Regions from separate parts of the Homo sapiens genome. Here regions 2 and 3 are each linked to region 1. Evidence: promoter capture Hi-C in human tissues and cell types (Jung and others, 2019). All regions are on one chromosome and are shown on one strand. The core of a region is centred on a gene start or on the middle of the fragment in contact, and the rest is flanking DNA. Distances in the headings are between cores, read along the strand shown. Region 1 holds the start of CST5 (cystatin D). Region 2 has its middle 67 kb from the start of LINC02967. Region 3 overlaps SYNDIG1 (synapse differentiation inducing 1).

Region 1 (4,037 bases), core at 495-2,994:
CAAGTGAATGCTCTTTCCCACAGCAAAGGATTAACTGAATTCTGCTACCTGTGCTCAGGGGGCAGGGACACTGGTCCCATCCTAGGAAGGCTGCCACCTGATGATGAAATTTCAGCTAACTTCCAGCTCCTGGCATTCAGTCCACAGAGCATCTCATTCCTGCCATTTAACCCAGAGGTATTTTTCCTCATTTCTCAGTAGGAGATGAGATGCTCACATACATTGATGTTTTAGGCCAATAAACATTGCCTCCTGCATGCCTCCATTCCAGGTGTGATTTTCAAGGCAATATTTCTAAAGTGAGTCACACACCTGCATGTCTTAGGGTTGCAACTTCAGAAGAGAACTGAATGCTTTCCCTGCACAGTGCCGCCCCAAAACATGACTTGTCAGAACTGTGGAGAAGCATGGGATGAGGGACCCTGGGACCAGGGTGCTAGACCTTGCCCTGTGGAACCACACACAAGTCCTGTAGAACCACATGGAAGTCCTGTGATCCCTCCGGTGTCAGTCTGCTGCTCTGTAAAATAGGCTCCAGGGCCCAACGATCTACATCATTCTGTGCTTCACTCCCAGTGAGTGACACACTTAAGAGGGAGTGCAGGCCAGCAGGGACCACAGCACCAGGGAATGCCCCTCCTGTGCAGGGAGAGGGCTGCAGGAGGAGAAACAGGGCTGGTCTGGACTCCTCTGACTTTCCAAGAGAAGGTGGAGGAGCTCTAAAGGCTGGCAGGCCATATAGCCCTGTGGTCGCTGTGTCACTGCTGCTCTGCCATGGGACGTAGGTCAAGCTGGGCTCGGTAGCCCTGCTGAAGCTTCCTCCCTCTGGACCCAACCACCTCCTTCACTCTGCTGGGTGATTGCTGTCCTCATTTTGCTGAGGTCTAACTCTGCGTTAGCTGGCAGAGGCAGGGTCAGGCATGCTCTACCCCAGCAGGAACTCAGCTGTCCTGGGCTGTAGGGGGTGGTCAGCCAGCCTGAGAGTGAAGGCCACTAGCCATAACGGGCTGTGCCCAGGGGCGTGACTTGGGAGGGAAGCGGGGCTATCCAGGACAAGGAGTCAGGTTCCCGTGTGGCCCCTGTGGAGAGGACTCAGGGAGGAAGATGAACCTCGTGGCCTGGATCTCATCCTGAGCAGCATCAAGCCCACCCAGAGTCAGCACAGTCTCCATCCACACCTGCTGGACCCTGGGAAATGCCACAGTCATGGTACAGACACAGTGGCTGCTGCAGGTTAAAAGAGGCCGAGGGGACAGGACAGGGCTGAACTCATGCACTCACGGCCAAGGAGTGTCCTAGGGCATGAAGACCATCAGCAGACAGTCAGAGAAAGCTGAATGAGTCTGCGGTTTAGATAATGTTGATTTGCTGGGAGTGCTCTGGGGGGTGAGGCAAAAAACCCAGCTGGGACTCAGGACCCCCAGGGTGGTGGTAGCACGCACCTGCTGGTAGGCAGCCATCACCTGCAGAGGGCGGCTGTAGTACTCATCCTTATTAATGACCTTGTTGTACTCGCTGATGGCAAAGTCCAGGGCACACTGCACACTCTTGTCATTGAGGTCTGTGGCATGGATGCCACCTGCCAAGGTCCTAGATTGGGCCGAGGCACTCCCGGCCACGGCCACCATCAAGGCAGTCAGCAGCAGCAGTGGGGTGTGCATGGGCCACATCATGTTCTACTGGGACACAGAGCAAGGAGCTGGATCTCCCAGAGAGCAAAGCAGCAGAAGGCTGAGGCAGGAAGCCCAGGCCAGAAGCTAGCTGTGCATTTATCCTACTTGGGTGTCCCCCAACCCCACCTGCTCCCTGGCCCCGCCCCTGGCTCCTCCTCCTCTTTCTACCCCTCCTCTTCTGTCTCTATCTCCCTTTCCACCCCCAACCACCTCCCTCCCTCCCTAAGTTCCCTTCGCTCCTCCCATGCCTCCTCCTCATCCTCCTCCCCACTCCTGTCCTGACCGCAACCTCCCCACAGCCCTGCCCCTCTTCCTCAGTGCTCTAAAGCTTGGCTCACTCTGGATTCCAGAGAGGTGACACCGCTCCCTGGGCTGTGAAACCTGGTGACCACCTATGTCCACAGGAAAGGGAGAAATACAGGGCTTGGCCTTCTAAAGTCTTCAGATGTCAGGGGCATCCAGGAGCACGTGGTCATGGTCTGGGAATTCCTGGGGCAGGGAGCTGTTTCAGAAGCTCCGGGATGACCTTGTCCATGCCCTCTTCTGGGGAACTTCTTTGCCAAACATAAAGTAATTAACCTTTGGGTAAAGTTCACTGGGTTCTCGTTTCATAACTCCTCATTATTCAATAAACAAACCTGTCACCAGCTTCCCCCTGCACCAAGCAGTCTGGGCAATAGAGCCGTAGACATGAACTTGCAGAGCTGCCATCCAACAGAGATGTGACAGAAACCCAGGAGCAATTTAAAACACATTTGAAAAAGTTAAAAGATACAGCTGAAAGTAATTTTGGTATTTCTACTTTAACCTAATATATCCAAAATACTTCAACACTTCAGGACTATTCTTAAGGAGCTAGTTTACATTCTTTTGTGTGAGTGTAATGTCTTGAAGTTCCCTGTGTATTTTTTACAGTTAGACCAAGCGTCACTGTGGACTAGCCCCATTTCAAGTGCCCTGTGGCCACGAGTGGCTGCTGGTGGCTGTGGTACTGCATAGCCCAGCCATTAGGGTGTGTGGGAGGATGCAGAGTGGTGATCAACAATTTAGATCAGGGAATTATAGTCGCTCAGTTAGAGAGAGGGTGGGTGCTACTGGACCCTGGTCAGGGAAGTCTCTAAGAGACCGGAAAGGTTGAGAAGCCCCAGGCAGCAGGGAATAGTCAGTGCAAAGGCCCTGAGGCAAGGCTGGGCATGCCTGCTCCAGGAAGAGGAAGCTCCTGGAGGGGGTGTGAGCAGGGAAGGGAACGACCTGGAGTCTCACGGTAACTGTGGGTGTGTCCAGGTGGAAGGCGCAGGGAGACCCCTGGCAGGTGGTGGGGGTGTCAGGAGAAGGAGCAGCAGCCACAGGATGAATGTGGGAGCCCAAGAGCCTCTCTTGCTCCTCCCCTCTGGGAGACGTGCTGCCAGCACTGGTCCTCTGTACACTGCTTGGAAAACTCATGTAATATTTTAAAAATTACATTGAATGAGGTAGAATTTACACACAATAAAATGCCTAATTGTATGTGCCCAATCTGGGGGATTTCATAAATGCATACACTTGTGTTACCACTTTGTCCACACCTGTGATATCTGCCTCACCCCAGATGGTTTCCTCCTGCCTCTGAAGCCCACCCTCATGCCCACCCGACCCTGGCAGCCCACATCTGGTCCTGTGGACTCCTTTGTTGCCTGTCCTTGAGCTTCCCAGGAATGGAATCCTGCAGAGAGAGCCCAGGTGTGTCTTCGTCCTTTGCTCAGCGTGGCTTCATTGCCAGGATTGAGAGTTCTCCTTCTCCACAGACTGAGAGGATGTGGTCAGTTGGGTGCCCTGTGGGCTGACAAAGCCCCCAGCTCGGGATGCTGTGGGCCTGGACTGGAATGTGACTTCAGGAGTAGGGAGGGTGGAAGGAGGCTCTGAACAGACAGCTGCTCCCTTTGTTCTCTCAACCCCCCCTCCATGCCTGAAGGTGATCCTGCGGCAAATGCCCTTATGGCGAGGTGGCAGGCTTGGCCAGAAACACCAGGAAACCCTGGGCCTTAGCAGGACACCCAGAGGACTCTCCTGGGAGTGGTGGAGGTGAGGGTCGGCCAGGATCAGCCCAGACCTGCTATAATCCTGGGGCTCCGCCATGGCTGGGGCTGCATCAGCAGGAACCCGACAGCGGGAACAATATTACTCATGGGTGCTCATGTTCAGTATGAGGACAGGGGACCTTTTTACCCAAGGCCCAGTGACCATTGCACCCCACTGTGAATCCAGCACCCCTAGAAAAGCCATGCACTCCAGCAGATACAGCAGGTGGCCCAGGGATAGTGTTTACTGCTGGGTGAGGGAGGGAAGGTCTTCAAGCAGGGCTGCACGTGATGCCTCCTAGTTAGA
Region 2 (4,037 bases), core at 529-3,028, 970 kb after region 1:
TTTTGTGCTGGTTTTTCCTCATCTTTGTGGATTTATCTACTTTTGATCTTTGAGGCTGATGACTTTTTGATGGTGTTTTTTGGGGGGGCGGGGGGGTATTTTTGTTGATGATGTTGTTGTTGCTTTCTGTTAGTTTTTTTTTTTTTTTCTAACAGTCAGGCCCCTCTTCTGCAGGTCTGCTGCAGTTTGCTCCATGCACCAACCTGCTCCATGGGGTATACATGGATTATTTTCCCAGTGCTGACACTGGTGTCCACAATACCACCTGTAAGTCAGCAGAGCAGAGCTCAGTAGGACAAACGTCAGCTCTCCTGCAGGACTGTCTACACCCAGAATAGAAACCACAGCCATTGCCATGCTGGTCCATTGCTCTGGCCAACTGAGCTTGCAGTTGTGCCATTCGCTGACTGGGCTCAGTGCCCCAACGTGCTCTCCCACACAGGAAGCTCTGGATCTTCAAAAATGGCTTGAAGAGAACTGAAAGGTGTTCTTCTGGGATGTCATTCAAGTCAAATGCATCAGCAGCCCAGAAGGCTCTCTTTCCTCACTACAGCCCCCAAGCTAATTACACGAGGTTTTTACAAGATGAACTATTGATTTACTGTCCACTGCCTCAAGCCAGTGTCTTGGAAATGAACACCAGAGCCTGAGAGCAGGAGGACTCATTCTATGAATATGTGCAGGTGAAACCCTGCCTTGCAGCTCATGGAAACTCTAATCTCCTACCGATTTCACGGCATGGAGCATCTCTTCCCCTTGGTTCAAACCCTGCAGGGACAACAGCTCTCCAGGGTATTCCCCAGCACCAAGCCCATGGCCACACCAGGAACTGCTCCAAACAGAGCTTCTTGCCATGGGGCAGGGGACCACAATCCTTCTCCCCCAGGCTAGGGTACCTCTGGTTTCTGCTCAGGGAGCTGCAGGGGAAGTCAGGCTACAGATTCCCCACTCAGAAGCTTCTCATCTGCTTTGTATTCATCTCTTCTAGTCAGTGATGTCTTAGGTGTGCTTAACATTCAGAGCAGAGCAGTTTTTAAAACCCACCTCTTCTATATGATAAAATTATTTTCAGTAATAAGCAACTACAAATTTACAAAAATAAAACCAGTGTAGTATTGGCACAGGTCATCACATATATCAATGGAACAAAATTTTCTGGAAATAGACTATGCATATATGATTAATTGATTTTTTTTTTTGAGACGGAGTTTCGCTCTTGTTGCCCAAGCTGGAGTGCAATGGCGTGATCTTGGCTCACTGCAATTTCCACCTCCTGGGTTCAAGCAATTCTCCTACCTCAGCCTCCTGAGTAACTGGGATTACAGGCATGTGTCACCATGCCTGGCTAAGTATTTGTGTATTTAGTAGAGACAGGGTTTCTCCATGGTGGTCAGGTTGGTCTCAAACTCCCAACCTCAGGTGGCCCCCCTGCCTCAGCCTCCCAAAGTGTTGGGATTACAGGAGTGAGCCACCACACCCAGCAATTAATTGATTTTTACAAATGTGCCAAGGTAATCCAATAGGGAAAAGATAGTCTCTTCAAATGGTGCTGGAACAAGTGAACAATCATATGCATAAAATAACTTCAACCCTTACCTTCCACCATATGCAAAAATTAACTCAAAATGAATCATAAACTAAATGCAGAAGCTGAAACTACAAAACTTCCAGAAGAAAACATGAGGAAAAAAATTTTGTGACATTGGTTTGAAAAGTAAGTTGTTGCTAGAATACCAAAAATGACTCATAAAAGAAGAAAATGATAAACTAGACTTGACGAAAATGAAAACCTTTTGTTTTACAAAGAGACACTATTAAGAAAATCAAAACCCACACACTGAGAGAAAATATTTACTGATTAAGGCCTGCATACCTGATAAAGGAATTGTATCTGAATGTATATAAAGAAATCTCAAAACTCAATAATAAGAAAACAAACAGTCTAACTTAAAAAGATGGGAAAAGATTTGAGGAGACACTCCATTTAGAAGAGCTATGGGTGGTCAGAGGCTCTGCATCACTAGGCAAGAGGGAAATGCAAATGAGCCCTCACCTCACCTCACCTCACACTAAAATGATTAAAATTAAGAGTACAGACAGCGAGCTGGGGGCAGTGGCTTACACCTGTAATCCCAACACTTTGGGAGACTGAGGCAGGATGATTGCTTGAGCGCAGAAGTTCAAGACCAGCCTAGGAAACACAGCAAGACCTCATCTCTAACAAAATTTTAAAAATTTTAAAAAAGTAGCCAGGTATGGTAGCGAATGATTTTAGTCTCAACTACTCAGGAGGCTGAAGTGAGAGGGTAGCTTAAGCCTGAGAGGTTGAGGCTGCAGTGAGCTAGGATTGCACCACAGCATTCCAGCCTGGATGACAAAGAGAGACCCCATATCATATATATATATATATATATATATGGCTATATATGTGGCTATATATTTGTGGCTATATATATATATAGATAGATAATCTAAACAGAAGAATACAGATAATGACAAGTGATGGTGAGGTATGAAGTGAATGGAACTTTCATACTTGGCTGGTGGGAATGTAAGTAGTACCACATTTTGAAAAAGAGTTTGGCAGTTTCTAATAAAGTTAAGTATATGTAATTGCTCAATGGGTTCTTCCAGCCCATTACACAGACAAAATCAATTTGCTGAGACCATGCCATTGCAGTAAATAAAAAGTTTAATTAACACCAGGCCAGCCATGCAGGATAACTCAAGTTATCACTCAATCAGTCTCCTAGAAGGCTCAGAGGTTACGGTTTTTCAAGGACGGTTCGGTGGGCCAGGGTCTAAGGAATGGGTGCTGCTGCCTGGCTGGGGATAAAATCATACGGGTGTGGAAAACAGTTCTTGTGCACTGAGTCCACCTCTTTGGGGGGGGCATGGGACCATTGAGTCACAAGCCTCAAGTCTAGGTAGCATCACTAGTTATCAGAAATGCAGAAGTCTGGGGGAAAAAAATCTCAAAAGGCCAATCTTGGGTTCTACAATAAGAATGTCATCTACAGGAGTAATTGGAGAAGTCACACTTCTTGTGACTTCTGGAACAATGGCTAGTATTGGTTAACTACACCTGCATCTTAGTAGAATTCAGCCCCTCTCAAAATCCTAAGCTTGTGGCCTTTCATTAGTTTTTACAAAGGTGTCTTAGTTTTGGGGAAGAGCTATTATCATCCTTGCTTTAAGGTTAAACTATAAACTAAATTTCTCCCAAAGTTAGCTTGGCCTATGCCAAGCAATGACCAAAGACAGCTTGGAGTTAGAAGCAAGATGGAGTCAACTCTGTTAGATTTCTCTCACTGTCATAATTTTGCAAAGGCGGTTTCACATATATTTACCATACAACACCATAGTCAAACTCTTAGGTTCTAACCCAAGAGAAATCATCAAATTGTTCACGTAAAAGGGTGAGTTTTAATCTGCAAATTATACCTCAATAAACTTAACTTTAAAAGTAAACAGTCATGTGATAATCATTAATAATCATTATTTTCTTGGTTTGTTTAGATTTAAAGTGATTAACAATTTTAATGGAAGCAGAAATTTCTGCTAATGTTATTAATCAAATTCAGCAAAGTATTTCCTGCGAGAAAACAAAAGAACTTTTGCCTGAGGAATGCAAGTCCTTTTAAATTGTCAGATCCAGAGAGAGTTAAATGAGACAGCAATCGCATCCTACCCAACCTTGAGCTATGTGAACATCTCCTGAAACCACTTCCTAATGACACAAGTAGCTGTAAATTAACTGAATAATGCCACACCAGACACTATTACCCGCACCCTACATACAGCTTAACAATGTACGGCCCATCACTAATCAATGTTATTTCTGTAAACCAGTGAGAATCCCTGACAAACAACTTTGTATCAGCCACCTCCCTGTCCCTTGCTACTTTTTTTGCCTTTAAAAATCTGCTTGTAACAGGTTACTTGAGGCTGAGTCTTTCAGGTAGCTCTCCTCACCTTGACTCAAGTAAATTCTTTAAATTATATTTTGTGTTTCAGTCTCCTCCTTTTAGCTTTAC
Region 3 (4,037 bases), core at 1,076-3,575, 730 kb after region 1:
CAAGATAGCGACAAAAGTGATCTCTGATCTTCCTCACTGCTCATTATATGCTAATTACATGCACCGCCATGCTAAAAGACACTCCCACCAGCGCCATGACAGTTTACAATGCCAAGGCAATGTCAGGAAGTTGCCCTATATGGTCCAAAAAGGGGAGGGACCCTCAGTTCTGGGAATTGCTCACTCTTTTCCCAGAAAAATCATGAAAAATCCGCCCTTTGTTTAGCAAATAATCAAGAAATAAGCATAAAAAGAGCCAACCAGCAGCCCTCCCTTGGGGCTGCTCTGCCTGTGGAGTAGCCGTTCTTTTATTCCTTTACTTTTTTAATAAACTTGCTTTCACTTTACTCTATGGACCCACCTCAAATTCTTTCTGGCATGAAGTCCAAGAACCCTCTCTTGAGGTCTGGATCGGGACTCCTTTCCGGTAACACTGGGATAATATTCCGTGCACCCCGCCAGATCCCACTTTTATCCTTAAGTTCATTATTTTTTAACGTCCTCAGATTTATAGTAAATTGAGTCCCATCTAATGAATGCATCTGTTAGGCTCTGGTAGATTCAGAATCAGCCCAAAACCCAAGTTTTCCCTTGAGAGTCACAGGGCATCCAAGGTCATGGGCAGGTAGTTGGGGGGCATCTGGGTAAAGACATGAAACCTGTGCTGGGGTCCAGGAGAAAGTCCTGGCAAAGGGCATCCCAACCAAGCAGGAGTGATGGAGCCACGCAGAAAGAAAATGCTACCCAGGGACAGATGGGTGGGAAGGGTTTGCCGTGGGCCCACATCTACCTCCCTGGGTGAGTGACATGTAAACGAAGGTTGCAATGAGGGCTACAAGAGCCCAGCTAGATACAAGCATAACATTGACTTTGCAGACAAATGCATTGAAAAACATTGCTAGAGGAACGGCTCCAATATTACTACATGGGTTTATTTTAACTTGTATCAGGGAAATGTGTGAGGGCAGTTAAATAGTCAAATGGTATCTCTCCTCTCTCTCTCTCCCTCCCCCAGTCTGTATCTCTGTCTCAATATGCATATTTAATATGCTGATTGTAGCTTCTGAGAGCTGTTTTGCAACTTCTGGATTTAAACAATTCCATATAAATATTAATGATCTGGTGCAGCCAAGACAAATCAGATTTCTTATGTATTTTTTTCCTCTGGAATCCATGCTGCAGTTAGTTACTGATTTTAACTTGTTCTAGTGTATAAATGAACAAATACATCATGTCTGCTTTGCTCCTTGCAGTGGATTGGATAGATTTTTTTTTCCACTGATAGGTGATACATTGTCTTGGTAATTAGCATCTTGATTTTGTGATTATTTGTCTGTAGCAGAGAAAACATGCATGTTGATTGTCCAAGGGCAGAGTCTGCAAAGCCTGTGACGTGTGGGACCCAGAGTTGACATAGCAATGCATTACATTACAAGCTGTGCACTCTTCCCTTTGGACTTAGGGCTCACCTCCAATTACATTTCCAACATGTGATCATTTTTCTTTAAATGATGTACCTGAAGCTTTTAGAATTTAGCATGCCTCCGACAGTAAAGCTGTCCACATGTTTCTTTTGCATCTCTTTTAAGATCGAGGACTTCTGTGCAGGTCCTACAGCACTATGGTTTTGTGTGGTGTCCCTCGGCTTCTGGTCACTATCTGTGGCCATTTCTGTGACTACCAGGCCAGCCTGGCCAGAGGCTGGGATGATCCAACAATGTGCTGGTTGATCACAGAGGCACTGGAGCATCATTGCAAGTGTCTCCAGAACAGGCATGTGGGCAGTCAGTGCTGGCCTCAGATGGCCTCAAGCCAAGTCTCAAAGCTCCACCTGTCAGGGGATGTGGCTATGAGGCTGTGGTTAGTGGGATGTCCCTGCCTCCTGAACAGCTGATGGTCAGGGGACTGACCCCTATTGCCATGAGCGACAACTCATGAACAATTTTCTCTGGGAAACTATTTCACTGAATTCTAATAGATATCTAGCAGATAATTACCCCAGATTTCACTTTGTCCCCAAATCTTAGGTTCTGTTGACCTCATGCTAAATCAAAAGCAGGAATTGCACTTTAAGGTAAAACCTTAGGTTATTATAGAATTGAATATTATATTATTGAGAAAGTTATTATAAAAAGAGAACAAATCTGAATTAGAAATGTCCATCTGGATGCTACTTTGAATAGATTTAGGAAACTTACTGTAGCCCAGTTAATCCTTACGGTATGGGTTTTCTGGAAGTAGAGATCCGGAGTTTAGATTCTGTGCTACAGGTGGGCAGAGCGCAGCACAAGTGCCCATCCCTGGGGTTATGTAGGGGAGCATACAGGATCAGTGGGGGCCAGGCTGCCAAGCAAGAAGATTGGAGTCAGCAGAAGGCTGTGTGCTCCTGTATTCGTCAGAATGATTACCCCTGGATGCTGACTTGGAAAGTGGATGCTGACGAGCAGAAGAAGCAGTGTTTGGAGGATGATTCTGGGATCTTCATTTTGAAGCTGCCCTGGGCAGTTGAGGCAGTACTGTCAATAGGGAGTTTGAAATAAGGAGTTTGCAAGAATCATGTGTTATATGAACGGACCTCTTTCTTTCCACTCATTTGGCCTTTGTTTGCCATTGATGACCTGGTGAAAGTTCTTTTTGAAAACTCCACCTTGGCCGGGCACCATGGCTCATGCCTATAATCCCAGCACTTTGGGAGGCTGAGGCAGTTGGATCACCTGAGGTCAGGAGTTCGAGACCAGCCTGGCCAACATGGCAAAAACCCATCTCTACTAAAAATATAAAAATTAGCTGGGTGTGGTGGCGTGCATCTGTAATCCCAGCTACTAGTGGAGGCTGAAGCAGGAGCATTGCTTGAACCCAGGAGGCGGATGTTGCAATAAGCCAAGATCACACCACTGCACTGCAGCCTGAGCAACAGAGCAAGACTCCGTCTCAAAAAAAAAAAAAAAAAAGAATAAAGAAAAGAAAGAAAACTCCACCTCGTTCGGGCTGATGAGAGTCCCAGTTGGGCACCCTGGTTCTGGCCAAAGGGCCGTCCTCAATGCCTGATTCACCCGGGCTGCTGGGGTGGAGAGTGGGGCTAGGAAGAGCCTCGGCCCATGACGAATGTTCACCCCTCCTGCTGCCTGGCTGTGACTTTTTCTCCTCAAGAGCGAGACATCTCCATGGGCCACATTCACAGTGGAGACGGCCTCGGGCTCCCCCTCTCCCTGCTTCAAGGGCCGAAATTCACAGGCAGCTGTGGGGACAGGGAAGCCCAACTGCTCTCTCACTAGCACACTGGGACTTGAGTTGGCCACAGTTGGAGAACCTTCTATCAATTACTTTCTTCCGTTTTTGTAGACTTTTTAGGTGTACTCCATTTGACGAAAACCTAATGATCTTTTAAAACTCCCAATATTTACAGTGGGTAAGTCAAGGGCAGTTATGTGTATCTCAGATACCCGAAGGTAACGTTAATGCATTAACATAATGTCCTGCAATTTACTTCAAGTATATTTAAAATACAGGTTTATACAGAAATCTATTTTAAACACTTTTCCCGGATGAGATCCTCTTATGAAACAAGATGTCAGAGCACATTCAAAACATCTTCGGCAGCTAAACCCTCTAGTCTCCAGTGCTGAATTTTAGTGTTTCCTTCCAGTTGTATACCTAATAAAAGATATTTTAATTATAAAGATATGATCTATCAATGCTTTCTAGAGTATAAACCCATGACAAATAATACAGAAATTATTTTAAATTTTGGCAATATTATCTCCTATTTTTTTTTTTTGAGACAGTCTCGCTCTGTCACCCAGTCTGGAGTGCAGTAGCGCAATCTCAGCTCACTCCGCCTCCCGGGTTCTAGCGATTCTCCTGCCTCAGCCTCCCAAGTAGCTGGGACTACAGGCACCTGCCATCATGCCCAGCTAATTTTAGTACTTTTAGTAGAGACAGGGTTTCATCATGTTGGCCAGGCTGTTCTCAAACTCCTGACCTCAGGTGATCTGCCCACCTCAGCCTCCCAAAGTGCTGGGATTACAAGCGTGAGT

What was found. Contacts are between HindIII fragments. The study calls those that stand out against the background at their distance.
Region 2: a fragment that was not itself captured here is called in contact with the fragment with the promoter of CST5 in region 1 in 2 of the 25 tissues and cell types used here (dorsolateral prefrontal cortex and spleen).
Region 3: a contact is called between a fragment that was not itself captured here and the fragment with the promoter of CST5 in region 1, in 2 of the 25 tissues and cell types used here (dorsolateral prefrontal cortex and lymphoblastoid cells).

What each region holds. Positions count from the first base shown.
Region 1 is chr20:23,878,004-23,882,040 of GRCh38, forward strand. It overlaps CST5 (cystatin D), which reads right to left and starts at 1,745. Exons shown (of 3, transcript NM_001900.5): 1 at 1,443-1,745. The coding sequence starts at 1,673. RefSeq lists an enhancer at 1,238-2,067. The HindIII fragment of the contact is 5,935 bases long and covers 1-3,661 here.
Region 2 is chr20:24,849,776-24,853,812 of GRCh38, forward strand. No RefSeq gene overlaps it. Among named protein-coding and RNA genes, the nearest start is that of LINC02967, 67 kb to the right of the region's middle. The HindIII fragment of the contact is 4,777 bases long and covers 1-4,037 here.
Region 3 is chr20:24,604,428-24,608,464 of GRCh38, forward strand. All of the region lies in intron 3 of SYNDIG1 (synapse differentiation inducing 1), which reads left to right. Among named protein-coding and RNA genes, the nearest start is that of SYNDIG1, 140 kb to the left of the region's middle. The HindIII fragment of the contact is 4,675 bases long and covers 1-4,037 here.